2 separate regions of the Homo sapiens genome follow, and region 2 is linked to region 1. Evidence: promoter capture Hi-C in 16 types of primary human blood cells and fetal thymus (Javierre and others, 2016). All regions are on one chromosome and are shown on one strand. Each heading gives the region's core, a stretch centred on a gene start or on the middle of the fragment in contact. The rest is flanking DNA. Distances are from core to core; before and after follow the strand shown. Region 1 holds the start of DYNC1I1 (dynein cytoplasmic 1 intermediate chain 1). Region 2 holds the start of PON3 (paraoxonase 3).

Evidence for each region. The method cuts DNA at HindIII sites, captures the fragments that hold promoters and counts their contacts. A CHiCAGO score of 5 or more calls a contact.
Region 2: a contact is called between the fragment with the promoter of PON3 here and the fragment with the promoter of DYNC1I1 in region 1, in 4 of 17 cell types (monocytes, M0 macrophages, M2 macrophages and 1 more). The highest score is 10.0, in monocytes.

What each region holds. Positions count from the first base shown.
Region 1 is chr7:95,768,079-95,774,467 of GRCh38, forward strand. It overlaps DYNC1I1 (dynein cytoplasmic 1 intermediate chain 1), which reads left to right and starts at 4,476. Exons shown (of 17, transcript NM_001135556.2): 1 at 4,476-4,695. The HindIII fragment of the contact is 2,753 bases long and covers 3,642-6,389 here.
Region 2 is chr7:95,393,329-95,398,994 of GRCh38, forward strand. PON3 (paraoxonase 3) reads right to left here and starts at 3,047. Exons shown (of 9, transcript NM_000940.3): 1 at 2,949-3,047; 2 at 1,316-1,386. The coding sequence starts at 3,022. It overlaps LOC107986822 (a long non-coding RNA gene), which reads left to right and starts at 3,144. Exons shown (of 2, transcript XR_007060439.1): 1 at 3,144-3,700. The HindIII fragment of the contact is 14,130 bases long and covers 1-5,666 here.

The sequences.
Region 1 (6,389 bases), core at 3,226-5,725:
CTCCCCATGGTAATGAGTGAGTTCTCACTCTGAATTCACAGGAGATCTGGTTGTTTAAAAGACTGTGGCACTTTCCTTCTCTCTCTTGCTCCCACTCTATTCATGTGATGCATCAGCTCCCCCTTTGCTTTCTGCCATAATTGTAAGGTTGTTGAGGCCCTCACCAGAAGCAGATGCCAGTACCATGCTTCTTGTACAGCCTGCAGAACCATGAGCCACAGTAAACTTCTTTTCTTTATAAATTACCCAGCCTCTGGGGTTCCTTTATATCAATGCAAATGGACTAATACAAACCCTCATGGATGACTTTGAGGGGCTCAAAACTTAAGTGAAGGAAATCACTGAAGATGTAATAAAAATAGCAGGAGAACTAGAATTAGAAGTAGAGTCTGAAGATGTGACTGAATTGCTGCAATCTCATAATAAAACTTCAATGAATGAGAAGTTGCTTCTTATGGAAGAGCAAAGAAAGTGATATACTGAGATGGGAACTACTGCTGGTGAAAATGCTATGAACATTGTTGAAATGATGACAAAGGATTTCGAATATTACATAAACGTATTTGATAAAGCAGTGGCAGGGTTTGACATAGTTCACTTCAGTTTTGAAGGTTCTGTGGATAAAGGGCTACCAAACACACACTGCATGCCTGTATCAAAATGTCTCCTGTACCTCATAAATACTAAATACCTTCTATGTGCCCATAAATTTGTTTAAATGCTATCAAAGAGCATGACATGCTACAGAGAAATCTTTCATGAAAAGAAGAATCAATGGATGAGGCAAACATCATTGTTGTCTTATTTTAAGACATTACCACAGCTACCCCACCTTCAGCAACAACCACCCTGATCAGTCAACAGCCATCAACATTGAGGCAAGACTCTCCACCAGCAAAAAGATTACAACTCACTGATGGCTCAAATGATTATTAGCATTTGTTAGCAATAAAGTATTTTTAAATTAAGACATGTATATGTTTTAGACATAATGCTATTGCACACTTAATAGGCCACAGTATAGTGTAAACATAACTATTATATACACTAGGAAACAAAAAAATGTGTATGACTCACTTTTATTGTGATATTTGGTGATGTGAAACTGAGCTCACAATATCTCCGTAGTATGCCTGCATTTTCTTTTTCTACAATTTTGACTACTTTAGATACTTCATATGAGTGGAATCATACACTATTTTACTTTTTGTAACTGACTTATTTCACTTACGACAGTGTCCTTCAAGTTCATCCACACTGTAGCATGTGACAGGATTTTCTTCCTTTTTAAATATAAAATTTTACTGTATGCATATATATTCCAAATTTTCTTTACTTATTCATCTGTTCATGAACATTTGGGTTGCTTCCACCTCTTGGCTATTGTGAATAATGTTGCATTGAACATGAATGTGCAAATATCTCTCTGAAATCCTACTTTGAATTATTTTGGTTAAATACTGAGAAGTGATAATATTATAACTAACTTTGAAATTGAGGGCTTAATTTGCTGTGGGCATACATTACAGGCTATTTGTCATGAATACAACTTGGCAAACTCAGGCCTTTTAAATCCTGACCTGGATTCTTTGAATGAACTTTAAACTTGTCTCTTAAGCTTTTGCTTGTTCAATCCTCTACCCGAAGATAGCCCCAGATGACTCTTCCCAAGTGTCATTCTCTACTCAAAGGCCTTTAATGATTCTCCATTATCTGCTCTACAGCCCTTCTCAAGGCCCCAGTTGGCTCTCCCATGAGTCTGTCATGATCCAAAAAGCTGGCCCACTCACTATTTGCTGAGTACACTTTGTTCTTTCTCTTCTTTGGAGCTTTGTTTACGCCTGAAAATGTTCTCTGCTCTTCATTTCTGCTCTAAAACCCTACCTATTTCAATACTATCTATTGTCATAATTCTAATTTCCTCCTTCCATCTCATCCACCCAAACCATTGTACTGCTTTGGGTATTTCCTTATTGTTTGTCCTTAATTATGTTGCCTTTACCTATCCTTGCACCTCCAACTGGATTTTAACCCCTTCAAGAAGAGGGATTATATTCTCTTTTTTAAATCATGTGAAGCTCCAAGCACAATGCTTTGCAGGTTGTGTGCGATGCAGTACAGGGGAGCCCCCAAATTAATTGGAGCTTAGCTCGCAAAGGTTCTTGGCTTTGCCCAGGAAAGAATTTAAGGGTGAGCCAGTGGTAGGGTTGAAAAGTACAGCTTTGTTGAAGTGGCAGTGTTACAGCTCTGATGGTGTTACAGCTCTGTGACTGTTCCTGCAGAGCAAGGCTACCCCACAGGCAGAAAGTAACAGCTCAGGGTAGTTTTGCAGTCATATTTGTACCTACTTTAATTACTTGTAGATCAAGGGGTAGTTTATGCAGAATTTTTAGGGAAAGGGTAGTAACTTCTGGGTCATGGGGTCATTGCCATGGAAGGGAGTGGTAACTCCTGGGTTTTGCCACGGCAGTGGTAAATTGACATGGCACACTGGTGAGCATCTCTTATGGAAAGCTGCCTCCGCCCCATCCCTGTTTTAGCTAGTCTTCAATTTGGTCCAGTGTCTAAGTCCCAGCTCCTACTTCGTGGGCACTCAACAATGCCATGTTGAGGCCAGGCATGGTGGCTCACACCTGTAATCCCAGCACTTTGGGAGGCTGAGGCAGGCAGATCACTTGAGGTCAGGAGTTCGAGACCAGCCTGGCCAACATGGAGAAATGCCATCTCTACTAAAAATACAAAAATTAGCCGGGCTAGGTGGTGTGCACCTGTAATCTTAGCTACTCAGGAAGCTGAGGAAGGAGAATCGCTTGAACCCAGGAGATGGAGGTTTCAGTGAGCCGAGATTGTGCCACTGCATTCCAGCCTGGGCATCAGAGGGAGACTCTGTCTCAAAAAACAAACAAACAAACAAACAAAACAACAACAACAACAAAAGCAATGCCATGTTGGAAAGACCAAAATACAAAGTAGTTAAAGTACAAGCTGCAGATGAATGGGAATTCAAATCTCAGCTAGATCACTCAGTGGTTATGGAACTTGGGCAAGGGAGTTAACTTCTTTGACTCAAGTTCCTTTTCTGGAGGCATGGCATTCGTTATATGTACTACATAATGTTATAGAAAAGTTAAAGAAAAATGTATGTAGAATTGACATGTATTAAATATTCAGTCACGGTAGTGGCAAATATTTATTTCCTAGATTTTTCCTTCTGGAATACCTTGAATACCTTCTACCTAGACATTTAACCTCTTCATTTCTAGCCATAGTTACAATCGCAGTAGATTAGCCAGGGAGGCCAAAGTTTTAGAATAAGGATGGCCATTTACAGATGAGTATGTATTCATACTGTATTCATACTAGAATCTGTATTTATTTTGAAATTACTGTAGTACTTGTGAATTAATAAGTTCATAAATATTTACTGAGTACCCATTATATATCAGAATGCTGTTCTAGATACTAAGAATACAGCAGTGAACAAGATAGCGTCCCTGCCCTCCACTAATTTACATTCTAATGTGTAAAAATACACCACAGATGTGCAAGAAATATGATGAAAAGCTCATCTATAAAATGATACCAAACCCCCTAACATCCCAAACTCAATTTTTTGGCCTTATAACTTAGCTGTTGTGGCAAGCTTGTTTTTTGCAGAGTCCAATAATAGTTACCCAGATTTTTTTTTGTTTCCCCGAGACGGAGTTTCGCTCTTGTTGCCCAGGCTTTGAGTGCAGTGGCGGGATCTCGGTTCACCACAACCTCCGCCTCCCGGGTTCAACCATTCTCCTGCCTTAGCCTCCCGAGTAGCTGGGATTACTGGCATGCACCACCACGCCCGGCTAATTTTGTATTTTTAGTAGAGACGGGGTTTTTTCATGTTGGTCAGGCTGGTCCCCCAACTCTCGACCTCAGGTGATCCGCCCTCCTCGGCCTCCCAAAGTGCTTGGATTACAGGCGTGAGCCACCGCGTCTGGCCAGTTACCCAGATTTTTAAAAGCTGGGACTTTAAGAAGCAATGTGAAGACAAGCTACACACACACCACACCACACACACACACACACACACACACACACACACAGACACACACACTTAATTCTTTTTTCTTCTAGAAAAATTGGGATCAATCAGACCTATAAGTCATTGTGTACAACAGGTAGATCTGAGCTTTATTTCTATTTAAATGACCTTAAGAAGTGTAGTTGCCTGGGAGTGAAAGTTGTTCAATGGTGGCATTTCAGCAGGAGCTCCCAGAATATTGAAGCTCTTCTCTTTGCAGCAACTGAGGTCTAAGTCCTACCGACGTTAGAGGGATAGACGAATTGACCTTTCCAGGTCCTCTGCTCGCCACCAGCCTACGGAGCGGCGCCACCCCCTCCTGGCGAGACCGGGCGCGGAAGACGCGGAGCGGAGGCCCTCCCTCAGGAGGGGCGCGGGCGTGGAGGGCGTGGGCAGGGGGCGGGGCGAGCCCCGCAGACTGAGTGCTCCGGGGAGCTGTCAGTGTCAGGCTCTGGGAGAGAGGAAGTGATCGCTCCCGGAGGAGCGCGAGCCGAGCGGCCGGCGCAGCGTGAGACAGCACATCCTGCCCGCGCCGGCCCCGCCACCTTCGGGAGCCGCCTGCACCAACGCTGCCGCCGCCCAGGAGCCGCCGCCGGCTCGGGGAGCCCAGTTCCGCCGCTGCCGAGCGCGTCCAGGTAAACTGGAGCGGGATGTCGCCGCTCCCCGGACGGCCGCCTCCGCACCTCTCCCCAACCCTCCCCACCCCGGTGTCGTCTGCGCTGGGAACCAGGCTGGAGCCGAGGCCCCTGCAGCCGCAGCCGGACCCTTGTCCTGGCCCCCTGCCCAGGCTCCTGCGTGCTCCGCTGAGCCCGAAGGCGGCCAAAGCCCCCCAGTGACACCCCCCTCTCGGCAGAGCCGAGAGACTAGGGCAGAGAAGGAAGGGTCGTGGTGTCACCACCTGGTCGCCCACCTTGTGGGCTGGGAAGGGCGTCCCAGTGCGCCCCGCCTCGGTCTTCCCCGGGGGAGCAGTGGGCGAGCGGCGCTGAAATCTGCACCCCTCTGGGCCACCGGCTGACTGCCCCTGGAGGAGGGGGAAAGCTGCAGAGGGAGGGGAAAGGATGCTGTTTGATTACATTTCGAGCTGTCTGCAAAGCTCTTAGATGCTGTCACTACCCTGCAAGTCGGAGGGAGCGAATTCACTTCCAGCAGGGCATTAATTAAACACTTCAAAGCGAGAAGATGCCAGTTTCTCTCTGCTGCGAAAAAGTGTGGCTGGGGGATGTTGTTTTGGTAAACACCTTCACGGCCGCCTGGCTCTCCTTCCCCCGCTCCCATTCGGAATCGCTCTGGCCTTATAAATCCGTGCGTCGTCATCATAAGGGCAGTGATCCTGGCAGCGCTGATGGGAACTGAGTGTGCGGGAGTCTCATGACTTGTACCTTGGCTAATAAGATTAAACAGAAGCCCAGGATCAGGACAGGAAATTACATAGGAGATCAGAGACTCAACAACATGCAGAAGATGGAATATATTCGCTATTCTGGCCTCTACTAATCCTAGGTAAGGGGCAGGAACAAGTAGCCAGCCATTTTCTTGCTTGGAATGCCTTTCAAGTGGGCATTGTAGACTTATTGTAGTTCAGAGTTGTGAAGAATTGCTTCCAAATATTCCAGATTAGCAAAAAGTATAGCTAACAGTAAGGCATAGGCAACTGCAGGTGACAACCCAACGCCTGATGTTAACACAGACATGGGTAACCAGTCTGTGTACATACTTTAATTGTGGAAATTATAGAGATATACGTTGATCAGTGTTAGTAAATTTGAAAAGGGAATATTCAGTGCAATTTGCAAGCTGAGGGTACTGGTGAGAATGTAATACTACCTCTAATTATTTAAAATGCCAAGTTTGTTCAAAAAGGTTTGGTGTGGAAAAAGGGGTCCTAACTCAGCTCTTTTGATCATATTTCTCAATAAAATAAAATCTGAAACACCTGCCACTGAGTTACCACATGTTCTCTTCATAAGAACTAACTCTCGAATATTTGTTTAGGTCTGAGGATCCAGTGCTCCAAGACCCATTCCTCTTAAAACCTCTAGCACCATCCTTGGGAAGTTTTTAGAATACAGTTGGGGGTCGAATGCAGGCTTTTCCAGCCTGTCAAGCTCTTAGCCCTGTTTCTGGCCCACAGCATCTCAGCATTTTACTTTGTCTTCCTTGTCTCAGGCCTCAGATACAAATGCACTTGCTTCCTCCTTCTTTGGACCTCTGAGATGCTGCAGCCGCTGGTGCACAGTCCCCTGGAGGAGGAGGGGCTGGCTTGCAGTCCTTCCCCACCCCCAGCCTTTCCTCCCTCTTTGCTATTGAAAACATGCATGATTGTTTTACT
Region 2 (5,666 bases), core at 1,797-4,296, 380 kb before region 1:
TGAATCGGAGCTTCAGAGTGCTGTGAGAGTTCAGAGGAAGGAGATGAATTTTGCAGCTGATTTTAGTAAGCAGAGACAGAGGAATCAGTAAGTTTGGAGGGAATTTCATAAGCAAAGGTGAGAAGGTGAAAGAACATATTCCCAGAACAGGGAACACAATCTAGCCTGATTTTATTTTATTTTTCTGTTAGCAATGTCAGGAAGAATTGGAGCTGTGGAGCCCAAATAAGCAGGTGTGGCATTAACTAGTAGGTGAGATTAGCCCATGTCTCACGTAGAAGCATGAGGGACAAGCGGGGAACAATGGTTCCTGGATTTTGAACTGAATCTTTTGAGAATGGGGGTACCATACATAGGAAAAGTCTAGAAGCAGAGCTGGTTGTGGGTGGGAGGATGAGGGAGAAAACGACAGAAATGTAAAATAGATTTCAGCTTAGGGAGAGTTTGAGCTGGAGCTGCCCTTTAACTGACTAAAAAAGAAGGGCTGCAGTTTGAAAGGTTAGGGACTGGGCCATGGATTTTTTATGAATTTTTTTAAAAGAAGGTAGGTAGGCTGTGAGGTTCCTTCGTTTATTATTTTTTTTAAGACAAAGTCTCGCTCTGTCGCCAGGCTGGAGTACAGTGGCGCGATCTCAGCTCACTGCAACCTCCGATGACTCCCTGGTTCAAGTGATTCTCCTGCCTCAGCCTTCCGAGTAGCTGGGATTACAGGCACACGCCGCCAACATGCCCGGCTAATTGTTATATTTTTAGTAGAGATGGGGTTTCACCATGTTGGCCAGGATGGTCTCGATCTCCTGACCTCATGATCCGCCCCCCTCGGCCTCCCAAGTGCTGGGATTACAGGTGTGAGCCACTGCGCCCAGCCTGCTGTGAGGTTCTTGAGGGGAGGGGCTGAGTCATATTATTTGAAAAAAAATAACACTTGAAGCCAGGAATGACAATAAGGAAAGGGAGGGAGGAAGGAAAGAAGAAAGAAGCAAAAAAAGGAAAGGTAACAGAGGACAAGGAGGAGAGTGAAATACCACAGATGGGAAAGGAGAAGCATTCAGTGAGGGGAAAACCAGGGAGTGGTCAATGACATTCTTTAGGTAATGTGGAGAGATGTCAGTAAGGAAATGTGCTGAGAAAAACCCACAAAGAATGTCATTTAGTACACCCCTGAAGACCTTGCATGGGGCAGAGTGGACGGGGCAGATGTCCCACTGGGAGGGCTTAAGTAGTGACAGGTAATTAAATGAGCTGGTAGGGCTCAGTCAGGTGGATGACGACCAAGAAGCTGTGCTGGCTCCTCTTGGTACTGTCACATACATACCAAGTTCCTCAATAAGGTGGCAGTTTTCAGGTTCTACTGGCTCCACTTCTCGAGAGGCATTCACCCTTTCTCTGTAGAAGATAAAACCCAACCCTGGAAGTCAAGGCACAGCATTCAAAATGTATGTTTAAATGTGGACTTCAATCATCTTCGTGTTGGTTAACTATCTTTATCATAATTTATGAATGACATAACAAGTAAGTAGGTACTTCCTTTCATGTTTATTTACATAATGTAGACATTATGTGGGTATTTTACCTATATCAGCTAACCTTACCCAGTTATTGCTGAAAAACTGTATAATATGATTCAACATGGAAAATTCTGCTGCCCAAATAAAAGACACTATTTAATAGTATGAGTAATTGAACAATATTATTAATTTAAATGCACGAAATAGCCCTAATTTTCTAAAGTATCGTCTGTTATAAATCTGCACTTAATCCCCTACAGTCTTGCCCTTTGAACTTTTCCTTCCAAACTGCTTTCCCAAAATTCAACAGGGTCTCCTAATAGTCAAACTCTATCACTTTTGCTTTAATTTTTAAATTTTATGCTGACTTACTCCGCAAGTATGTAAATTCATTAAACCAACCACAATTTAAACAATTGGCCGATTTATTTTTCAACACAATTTTCTTGTTTCCAGAGTGAAAAGGAATGTTTCCACATTCTTCTAATATCAGGGATAATTTAAAATTTTTATTAAAGTATATTCAGAAAGACTCAATACTTATCTTACAGTCATTTATTTAAAAAAATACCCTTAGATCTACTTTATTATTATTACTATTATTTTATGATTCTCCATGTGGTTGCACTGGGAGCAAATGTAACAATAAAACTCTCAAACTGGAAGTATTACTAATAGGCACCAGGCACCTCAACAGATTCTAGACGTGATCCTCTAAGAAGACCAGCTTCAACTAAGAGAAATACATAAACACTCAAAGACAACTGAAAGCAAGCAGAGGCTTTCGATCCACTCATGAATGTGTATTATCACTTAAAGGTTCTTCTTTCTAGCCCAGTATTGACTTTTCCTGAGACATTTCTAGGCTGGCTATCACCATTGTATCTTCCACTTCAAAAGGTCAAATGCCTACAAAATGCCAGTTACCGCCTGCAGGTTTCAGCTGGTTTGCCCTGCTGTCTGGCCAGCTCTTTAAATCTAGGATAGGTTCCATAACCCAGTACTTCTGCATGGTTAGCCAGACCTGGGCAATGTCTCAGTCAGCCGTAAACATCCAACTGGTAGCCTGATCCTCTCTCCCAAGTCCGGCGTTTCCAATGGACGTCCTTTTTTCCCAAGCAGAATGTTGAGGGCGAGCTGGGAAAGGGGTCATCACGTTCAGAAAGTAAAAGGGGGTCATGACCTTCAGAAAGCAAAGTGGGGGATCATAACCTTCAAAAAATAAATGGGACTAATTCGGCTCGGCAGTCTTTGGAAACGCAAGTAGCTCACTTTCCCCATAAGCGAGTCTCAAGGGGCGGTTTGCTGGGTGAGATGGAGGAGTGAGGTTCCAAAGCTGCTCTTTCCTACCCGCTAGGAAGGGGGCGCCAGGCAGCCCCTGACCTCACTTGGAAGAGGAGAGAAAGAGAGTCGAAGACGCCCTGTCAAGATGCCACTCACCTAAACGCCAGGAACATCTCCCCGACTAAGGACAGGCCGACCCCCAGCAGGACCAGCGCCACGAGCTTCCCCATGGTCTCGGGGTGCCCAGCGGCGACTGCGCGGCGCCGAGAGCTCTCGGGGGCGCGGCGGGCGGTTCCTGCCTCGCGTACGGATTGGGGCCCGCTCGGCCCCGCCCGCACACGCCTCCTACTTACCTGAGCGGCCCGGGTGCCGCAGCAGGGCGCTGACGAGTCCCGCCGAGCCCCGCCGCCCGGGTTCAAGGCCGCCTTCACGCCCACGATTCCTTGTTTTTTGGGCAGAGGTCAAGGCTCAACGGAGAGGGAGCCCGGGACCGAGTTGTGGTGGGAGTTTGCTCCTAACACCCGCGAAATCCTACCTCAATTCCTCAGATGGCCTGAGGGAGAAACCGGAGGGCCCGGGAATGGCGGGGAGCTCCAGTTCAGAGCCGGAACTCCGGACTTCTGCAAGGCCAGACGTGAGGCGACACTGAATTGCTCCCGAGACGCGGGAAGGGCGAAGGCAATCGAAGCGAAGAGCTTTAACTCATCTTCTCCAGGATTTGGGGCACGGGAACCTGTCTCCTGACCTTCGTGCCTTACCTCGGAGTGTGCTGCCCAGACGGACTTGTGAATAGCTGCGTCTGTCCCCATAGTTAACGGGAGAAGGAAACACCAGGAGAAAAGAAGGAAAAGACAGGAAACGGGAAGAGGAGCAGAGGCGAGGAAGGGGAAGGTCATTTCCTTGGCAGGGTAGGCCCTCTTTCTTCTAGGTCTTGAGTTCCTGCCAGGCAAGAAATGCTCTTTCCCCTCTCCTGATGAACACCAGGTTGGAGGGGGAGGAACTGAAGATGCGGGAAGACTTGGGGAGTTCGGGCAAAGTAGCACATTCAAGCATGATCTATTTTTATTTACGGACAGAAAGAAATATTAGTTCTGTTAGGTTCCACCGAGTAAACTATTTGTTGAGAGAGCAAGATTTGCCAATCCTGGGGGTATTAAGGAAAGAAAAGGTGGTCCCTGACCTATGGGATACATGATTCTAGTATGAATACGTAATTACAGGATGAATAATGAAGCCCACCGCTTATGCAGTACTGACTGTGTGCTTTGCCTGTGCTGACACCTATGTTAACGCATTTAATTATCAACACAATCTCTGGAGTGTGGGTAGCCTTACCCCAATTTTACAGGTGAGACCTGCAGCACAGATTGCTTATGTGGCTTGCTGTAGGTCAGGCAGCTGTCAAGCAGCAGACTCCAAAATCTGGGCCCTTAACTGAGCTGCCTCTACCATGCTGCCTCTAGAAAATCTATGGAAGAAGGGTTGTATTAAAAGGACAGTGTAACGTCTTGAATTGTATAGATTAGAGTTCTTGTTAAGATGACTAATGTTAAAAGAGTGCAAGCAGAGGAGGAATCGAAGTCAGGAGGGCTCACAGAGCTGAGGGGCCTGGGGTGTGATGTAGACATGCATGCAGGGTTTGGGAGTCAGGCTGCCTGGGTTTGGATCCAGCCTAGATAAAGTACTCAGCTTTATTGAGCTACAGATTCCTCTTCTGTAAAAGAACGTCCACCTCATAGGTAGCTTAAAATTAAATGTGATAATGAGTGTCAAGTGCTCTGCACTGTGCTTGATACGTTTTATGAAGTCAGTAAAGATTAACCACTAATTAATTCTGAACTTTGCTTGAGATTGTAGGCTCCTGTGGGAAGGACTCCATCGCATTGATCACTGGGTTTTCCCGTGCCATCCATAGAACTTTGTGCTTAATAATGACTCAATAAATATGATTAGATGGATGGATGTAAAATATGGACTTGGGAGAAAGAAAAATTAGAAGAATAAAAAATAAATGGAATGAATAATGAAATAATAATAGTCATATTATTATTTCACTCAGCGTTTGCATGCCTTGTCACATTACTTCTTATTAACCTTACCTACAAAGAAGTAAAGTGAATTGCTTGCTGCAAGTTTGATGGGACTAAAAAGAAGGAAAGTGAGGCTTTGAGGCTTAGAGAGGTAAAGTAATAATTCACTTAAGGTTACATAACTAAGTGTCAGTGCCTCCATCTGGACTCAGATCAGGTGACTCTAGAGCTCATGTTCCTTATCACTGTGTTTGCAGCATAGCATGAAGAAGGGGGTAAAGAAAGAAGCGTATTCTTGGGCAATTGATTGAAGTTCTGTGTTAGCTATAATTTGTTTAAAAATTCTTCACTTTAGGCAGAGGAGTCTCTGTGTGTGTGTGTGCATGTGTGTGTGTGTGTGTGTGTGTGTGTGTATACATTAACTTTAAACCCTAGAAGTGGTTAGTTTTTATTCGAATACCATAATCAGTAATTCAAATCCCCAGCATGGTAAATTAGCATTAAAGAATTCCAAACTTTGGAGGCCACTGTATCGAGTGTCACCATCTAAATCTGCTCTTGGCAATAGGCCAAATTGACTTGGTCAAGAGGCCACAGGTACATCAGTATTGTAAAAGGGGTTTGTTGACTTTGAAAGAGCAGGACAGATAAATTCAAAAGGCCTAAATTCAAGATCCAATTCCATTTGTAGTTGGCCCTTTAATCTTTTGAAATCACTTATCACCACCTCTGGACCCTTCTTTCCTTATATGTATAGTGGGGCTTTCAAAGAGCTAATGTAGACCAAATTCAATGCTATACGTTTAAACAGTAAGTAACACAATACTATATATAGATCTAGGGA